Linked DNA regions of Homo sapiens: region 1 is linked to region 2. The links are contacts of gene promoters, found by promoter capture Hi-C in blood cells and fetal thymus (Javierre and others, 2016). All regions are on one chromosome and are shown on one strand. Each heading gives the region's core, a stretch centred on a gene start or on the middle of the fragment in contact. The rest is flanking DNA. Distances are from core to core; before and after follow the strand shown.

Evidence for each region. The method cuts DNA at HindIII sites, captures the fragments that hold promoters and counts their contacts. A CHiCAGO score of 5 or more calls a contact.
Region 1: a fragment that was not itself captured here is called in contact with the fragment with the promoter of IFT57 in region 2 in 2 of 17 cell types (total B cells and naive B cells); the score reaches 6.7 in total B cells.

What each region holds. Positions count from the first base shown.
Region 1 is chr3:108,479,002-108,482,984 of GRCh38, forward strand. All of the region lies in intron 11 of MYH15 (myosin heavy chain 15), which reads right to left. Among named protein-coding and RNA genes, the nearest start is that of MYH15, 30 kb to the right of the region's middle. The HindIII fragment of the contact is 443 bases long and covers 1,959-2,401 here.
Region 2 is chr3:108,220,743-108,224,522 of GRCh38, forward strand. IFT57 (intraflagellar transport 57) reads right to left here and starts at 1,682. Exons shown (of 11, transcript NM_018010.4): 1 at 1,369-1,682. The coding sequence starts at 1,580. It overlaps LOC124909405 (a long non-coding RNA gene), which reads left to right and starts at 1,863. Exons shown (of 2, transcript XR_007095999.1): 1 at 1,863-1,944; 2 at 2,204-3,742. RefSeq lists an enhancer at 1,401-1,660 and a silencer at 1,596-1,889. The HindIII fragment of the contact is 9,168 bases long and covers 1-2,232 here.

The DNA.
Region 1 (3,983 bases), core at 930-3,429, 260 kb after region 2:
ATCACATATGTTCTCTGTTTTGGGGGGAAAGAGGAAACAATAGAGGTCATCATGTTCCAAAAAGTAAATTACTTCATTTGCACTAAATGTTTACAGTTTGCAACCAAGATGAAAATGGCGTAAATCTATGACTAAATGCCCATCTGACATTCAGGAACTACTGTTGTAAAGATAGCAATATGTGTAAACATATTTTAATCATATTCCCAAATAGGCTTTATGAAATTCCCACCCATAAGCATCAGTTCCTTCAGGACCTTGTGAATGAACCCATGGACTTCAATTAGGCTGCATGATCTTACCTGGGAGAGGTAACATTTAGCTAGAGAGGTGGTTCTCAAGCATCAGTGTGTATTGGAATAGCCTGGAGAGCTAATCAAAGATTAAACAACAGGCTCCCTGAAGCAGGTTAGGGGCTGGGCCGCTCTAGTTTTATCGTGTTACCCAGGTGATTCTGATACACATACAAGTTTGAGAACAAAGTTGTTATTGTGGTAGTCCTCAACTTTGACTGCACACTGGGGTCCCTGGCAAGTTGTAAAAACAAATACTGATGCCTGAAATTCACCCACAGAAATCTGGCTTGTCTGGCTTGGGTAAGGCCTGAGCTTCAGGATTTTAAAAGTTCCCCAGCGATTCTGTTGAGCAGCCAAGTTTGCAAACTACTGTCTAGAGAATAATAACCAGGTTTCGTAAGTTTATTTTGAAATCAGGAAGATGGAAAGAACAAAGTATGACTTCACCTGAAAACAGGTAAAAAGGTAGAGAAACTCAAAAAGGAATCTTTTCCAAATTTCCAATTCTGTCCCAGTTCAGTCCCATCTGCAAATAACCAGATATGAAAGAATGAAGCAAAATCCAGTTTTGTCAGTCTACAGGGGTTATGATAAAGATATTAATCTCTTTTATGGAAGGTTATAATACAATTTTTGAGCTGTTCATATTTCATTAATTTATTAAACAAAGTTAACTGAGCATTTGCTATGTGTAAGCCCTGATGCTAGATAATGTAATAAGAAGATAAATAAACAAGGCAAAAATCCCTGGCATCAAGAAATTATAATCTATGAGAGTAAATAAGACATGGGAAAAAATAGTATGTCAGTAAAACAACTGCATAAGAGACACACAAATCGAGTATCACAAAACTGTGAAGTAGGGAAAGAGCCCTTCTGGACTGCATGACTGGGGAAGGATTAAAAAAGAAACAACATTCAATCTGAGCCTTGAAGGATGACAAGAGTTTTTGTAGGCAAATATGGGAGAAGAAGAGTTTCCTTAACAATGAACAGCACGACTTGAAGCCACAGGCGTTGAAGAGTACAAGGTATGGTCAAAGAAGAGGTTGTAACCCAGAGGGACTGGACTACGATACCAGGGAGTGAGTGAGAAACTGAGAAAAGCGGGTGACTTCTGGTCGCAGAAGACATCTAATGCCGCTATAACATATTAATTAAAGAATGGGGAAATGTTAAAGGAGCTGTAAGCAGAGAAATGACATAATTAGAGTCATGCTTTAGGATGCTTAATTTTGGAAATGTGCAAGACAGACCAGAGTAGGAAGTTTTAAAGTACAGAGTGAACCCATTGCAGAATGCTGAAGTGTGAGATGCTGAAGCTCCAAATTTGTAATGAGAAAGGGAGAAAGAGAGACTGAGAAATATGACTAGGAGGTTTCCAGTCTGAGAAGTAGAAAGAAGAACAATACCATAAATATGAATAGAAATGCCAATAGGAAGACATCACTTAGGGGAGAAGATGATGGACTTTTAGCCATGCAGAGTTTAGGATACTAGAAAATATGCAGCTGAGAGTTGGAAATATGGAGTTGGAACTCAAGAAAGAGGCAAAGGCTAAGATGCCCCTTTGGGTTTGGGTGCCCTTCCCCGTTCCTTCTTCTCCATCTGTCCAGCTCCTTCAAAACCTTCCTAAATAATTAACTGGGAAAAATTTACCAAAGCTTAATATATTAAGAACCCTTAGAATTAAAGAAAAATTCAACACCTCCATTTTTAAAATGAGCTAAAGGTAGAAGCATACTGAAAAAAACTCAGTATCCAGTAAGATGCTTAAGTTAATTATGGTACATTCATACAATGGAATATTTTGTAGCCATCTAAAAAGATATTGCAGAAAAGACAAAAAGATGTTCACATATAATTTGGTAAAAAAATACTAGGCTGAAACAACATGAATATGATCACATTTTTATTTTAAAAAGTTATATGTGCATATTCAACTAGAAAATGCGTAAAAAATATGTCCTTTGGCATTCACAGTGATTGTCTCTGAGTAGGTAGGGTTCACTTAATGAATAATTAGCCATTACTATGTGCCAGGCACATTTTAAAACCTGGAAATATAGCAGTGAACACACCAAATGAGGTCCCTGCTCTTACAAAGCTTACATCTGGTGGAGATTGAGGGGTGGAGGCTAGGACATTCAATAAAAACTAGCTGTATGAATGACATGAAGAAAAATATTTAGATTAGGGGGATAGTGGTGGAGGTAGCTAGAGAAGGCTTTTCTAATAAGGTAACATCCAAGAAGTTACTTTAATAAGTGAGGGAGTAAGACATGAGGACAGGAGAAAAGTTCCAGGCAGAAAGAAGAGTTAGTGAAAATAGTCCTGCAATAGGAGTGCTTACATGCTCCAAAAACATCCAAGAGGCCAGGACATGTGAGTGGAGGGAAATGAGAGACGAGAAAATGATAGATTTCGCTACTAACGGTAGGGATTAGAGAGAGACAGAGAAGTATTGGTTGGTGCAAACATAATTGCGGTTTTTGCTGTTAAAAGTAATGACAAAAACCAAAATTACATTTGCACCAACCTAATATCATAGAGGTTAAGGAAGCTGTGACAGGAACGTGGGGTTTTATTTGGAGCCATTGTTGAGTTTAGAGCAGAAGCAGGACATGGTGGAACAAGGGCTGACTGACACTGTGAAAGGACTGACAGTAGCTTCTGGGTGCAGAGCTATCCACCTATCCATCGTAGGCAAGGATGCAAGCAGGGAGACCAGGAAGGAGGCTGTAGTAAGAAACGGTGGCTCGGGCTAGGTGGTGGCAGTGGGCATGGCCATGGTGATAAGTTGTGAGCTTTTGGATGTATTTCAAAGGTAGAGACAATGAAAAAGAGAGGAGTCCAGGATGATTCTGAGATTTGAGTCAGGGCAATTGGGAGAACCTAGGTGGCATTTTTGAAGAAGACCGAGAAATGAAGAGTTGGTAGTAAAGGCAGGGTGGGATGAAGAGTTCAGTTCTATTCATGTTGAGTTTGAGATGGGCACCAAAGAAATGAGCATAGAAAGGGAAGAGGAAAGATTCAAGGCTGGAGCCCTGAGCAGCCCTAGAGCAATTAGCAGTAGGGAAGATAAGGAAGCTCCAGCAAAGAACCTGAGAAGAAGCCAAAAGGGAGAGTGGAGGAGATTACACATTTCATTTGCTCATCTGTGTTTTTTGATTTATCAGTAAGTATGCCTTGTTTTTGTAATAAAAACCATTCTTTAAGAAAAGCCTTTGTTTTAAAGCATGGAAAAAGCAAACAGGATGGCAAAAATAAAATAAGATGCCATAAAAGCATATGTGAATATGTTAATATATAAGATGTTTACAAGATCTTCATAACACATTGTCTCACTTCATTCACATCTGTGCTGTGTCCTCTTCTCTGAGGGACTGACTTCCTGACCACCCTATCTACAACAACCTCTGTATCCTATTATTCCTTATTTTTTTAACTCTGCTTTACTTCCTTTTTGTATGGAACTTGTTACGTATTTATGTATTTATTGTCTAACTCCCACACTAGACAAGACAGGGACAATATCTTGTTCACGGATGTATCCCTAGCATCAAGAATAGTCCCTAGCACAGACTGGCCTCCAAAATTATTTGTTGCACAACAGGCCAGGCATGGTGTTTCAGGCCTGTAATCCCAGCACTTTGGGAGGCCGAGGTGGGTAGATCACTTAAGGTC
Region 2 (3,780 bases), core at 432-2,931:
AAAGGTAGACCTGGGAAAGGGCCTGAGGAATTTCATTTCTAGTAAGTTCCCAGGTGATGCTGATGCTGTTGGTCTGGTGATCACATTTTGAGAACCATTGGACTAGGATATCCCCACACAAATCCATGATTCAAAGTATCCTGCTGAACCCCTGAGGACACAGTGCAAGAGATGACATCAACAGAACCTTAAGGACATTTTGTTTTCATTTTAAAAATATACTTGGAAAAAAATGCATTTTTATTAACATAGGAAATGTTGGTTGTCTATATTATCCTGATCAATTCACTTTAAGTAATAATCCCAGGACTACCTTTTCTAACATGGATCAAGCAACACTACTTTTTCCTTTATCTTTTCTCCGACCATGGACTAATTTAATATGAACAGTTTATATCAAGCCTACATATCTTTCAATTCAAGTTATTGGAAGACAGCAGTGGAATGAGATTAAAACTATCAAGGGAAATTATTTGAGCCTGGCTGTAGACATTAAGTACTATAGATTCTTAATACTGATTGCCTTTTATGGAATAAAATATACAAATGTAAGTATTAAAGTGAAAGAAAAGCTATAAAACTGATTTATCTGGCTACTGCTAAGCTACAGTGATTTGAGGAGAAGGTCCTAGCTGACCACTACCCTCAGCAAGTAATGGCATTGCTTTCAGGATATGTTGGACTTTTCCCCCACCGGAACAAGGGTAAAACTTTAGGTTCTATGATAGGGGGACAATTCAATAGTTGTCATTCGTCTTTTCCACTTTTCAGTTTCTGAGAGTATGGTTATTACAAAGGCAGAAGTCTTTTAAACCATAGCAAGTAGTTAACAAGTTTACTAACCGCATTTAAAGTGCTCCTTAACAGGATCCTAAGTACCCACGGTCCCCAGTTGTATGAACAGGGTCTTAAACAACAACAAAAAACCCCAAACTAGAAAAAAAGCCTTAAGTGATAATGGCATTCCTCTCTGGAGGCGAATTTTGGACGGTCTTATAATTTTTCTAGACATTTACTTGTGTTTTTCTGAGTTTTCTTCAATGAGTATTTGTTTCATCTTTACAATCAGAAAATATAGTTTGTGTTTTCTGGTAATGCGTGTGTGTTGGAAAAAAACAGGCAAGCTGTCTTCCGATCCTTTCTGCCGTTCCAAAACTTATTTATTCTCTCTACAAAAATACCAAGTCAGGGCTGCGTGAGCTCCACGGACCTCCCGGGAGTTTGGGGTGAAGTGCCCTTCCCTGGCTAGGAAGACGGAGGCAAGGAATTGCTAACCCGCTCTCACGAAACTGGTTCCCAGCAGGACCAAGGAGGGCATCTCCCTGGGGGCTAGCAGGCACCCGGGCGCTCGGGGACGCCGGCACCCACCTGGACGGGGCCTTCAGGTTGCTCTTCCGGAGGAACTCCTCCTCGTAGCGGAGCAGCTTCAGCTTCTCCACCAAGTCCTCCATCACCACGAACATGTGGTAGGCCGCGCCGGGCCCCCGCTCCAAGACCACTTCCCCGGTCCCTTCGCCACGGGACCTAGGCACCCCATCTTCCAAACCCGACGTCGTGACGACGGCCAGAGCAGCAGTCATCGCAGAACGGACAGAGTCCAGCGTGGGCTCAGGCCCACAGACCTCTGCGGCCTAAGCCGCCAGCCCTGCCGCCGCCAGTACAGCCACGACCGGTTACCAGGCGACCACCGGACAATCCGTCACCAGGGAAACTAGACTCCGCCTCCTTCCCTCCAATCAGGGCGGCTTTCCTGAATGACGTCACCTGTGGCCCTCTTCTTGCCCTGCCTCTGTGGAAATGGTGGTCGGGAAGCAGCCCCGCCCCTCATGGAGGCGTGGCGTTCGCGCCCCACTGCCGGCTGCGTCTTCTCCCTCGCTGAAAGTCTGAAGGGAGCCGGCTTACGTTTCTGCTCCGCTTGCCTAGTGAGTCTTGAGCTGGCTTGAGGTGTGTTGGACCTGGTGGTTGCTAAAAGCAATTAAGCGGGCATCTGGGTCAGCTAGTAGCTGTTAAAAAGATTAAAGGGAGGTGAAGACGTGTAGCACTGAAGGCTGCACTGGCTCACTGATACCTTTATTTTCTCAGAATTGAAAAGTTTTTCATAGTTGTAAAGATAGTCAATACCATAGGTTTCACTTTTACTGCAGGAACTTTCCAACGAGAGGTTTCTCTCGTTCTTTCTTTAATTTTATCTTTCTCTCACTAGGCAATGCTGCACTTAACAGTATATTGTAAAGCTTGAAGTACTGTATTACGTTGCCTGGCTGTTACTCCAGTGCTAGGAAAGTGGTTGGAAGGATGAGGAAGACAATGAACAAAAGGAGGCATTTGGAAGGATTTGTTTTACTTCAAAAACAAGAATACTAAGCTTCCATCCTGCTGCTTAATCTGTTTCAAACCCATTACATGTAGTATAAAGTGTTTGGGTACTTCGTTAAATCCAACAGAATAGAGATGGTCTTAAAAGGAATTTCCCTGCCCTAAAGCTCTAAGGGTGGCTAAAGATAGGGTGTTACTACTGTATTCTGCAGTTATTGACCTAGAAAATTTAAGAAAAGGTACATAACTGACCACAGAAATGGCCCAGCTTTACAGTTTTCAAAAGGCTTCTGTATTAGGCAATTTTCTTAACAGTTGCAAAAAATGAGGTAAGTGGTGGATGCCTGGCAGTTTTTGGGAAGAAAACTTAGTACAAGAGATTGAACATATGTTCATGTTTATAACGTGACTTTTAAGGGCTCTCTGATCTCTTGTATCTGCCACTACAAAATATAGAAGGGCTACATTTTTGGACAACTGAAATTTGAAATGTATCTACAATATCCTGTTTTTATTAGAAAAAATGAGAACACTTTTCATTGTAATCCGTCTACAGCTAACTTGTTTCTGATACTAATAAGGTTATCAAAGTGAAAAGTCAGAAGGGCAAATACCATTTTTTCATTAAAGAAAGGAAGTACATAAAATTACAGACTTATGTAGAGAATAACCTGAAGGGCAGCCCACTGAGAATTGCTTTTTAAATAAATAACATTGCTTGCCTACCACAAGTCATGAGCCAGCTGCTTTTAATAAAGTTGAGTGAGAAAATTGGATTTGATGTTACCCCACTACCAAATTGATCTTTCCTGGTCTTTGCCTTTTTGAAACAGTGATTCTCCCCGATAAGTCCATACCCCAACCACCACCACATGTGCAGCTTGGGGGTGTTATATGTATGTATAACAGTCACAGTAGTGTAAGATAGATGTATGGCTTTATAAGACTGAAAAATGAAAGCTTAGATATGTTTTGGGGTCCTAAGTTAACTAACAAGCAAACTGGGGCTTTTTACATGACTCTGAAAAAGCTCTCAGACTTTGGAAGTAAATTTATTACACTCAGGGAGGGAGATGTTCCTGCCAGGCATGCTGCCTACTTAAGATGTTCTGACATTTTCAGGAAGTTACGTAACACAGTATGAAATAGTCAAACGTTGCTTTTTAGCTGATAAATCCTCCAGCAACGTATGTATTTTAACTTGGGGGAAACAAAACGACTCCCAGGGTCTTAGCCATTTCCTTCCCAGGTAAAATACTGACACAGCCTGGCCTGAAAGCAGTATACAGAATAATTTCCCCCCTTAATTGTGAAGAAGAAAAAAACCCAAAAATATAAAGTATTTCCAGTAATTGTGGCACAAAGAGAACAAAAAAGCTAACTGTTCAATACTGCATGTTTCCCCAATAAAAAGTTTTAGAAAGAACACTGAAATTTCATTGTTTTGTAAAGCCCAGGGATTAT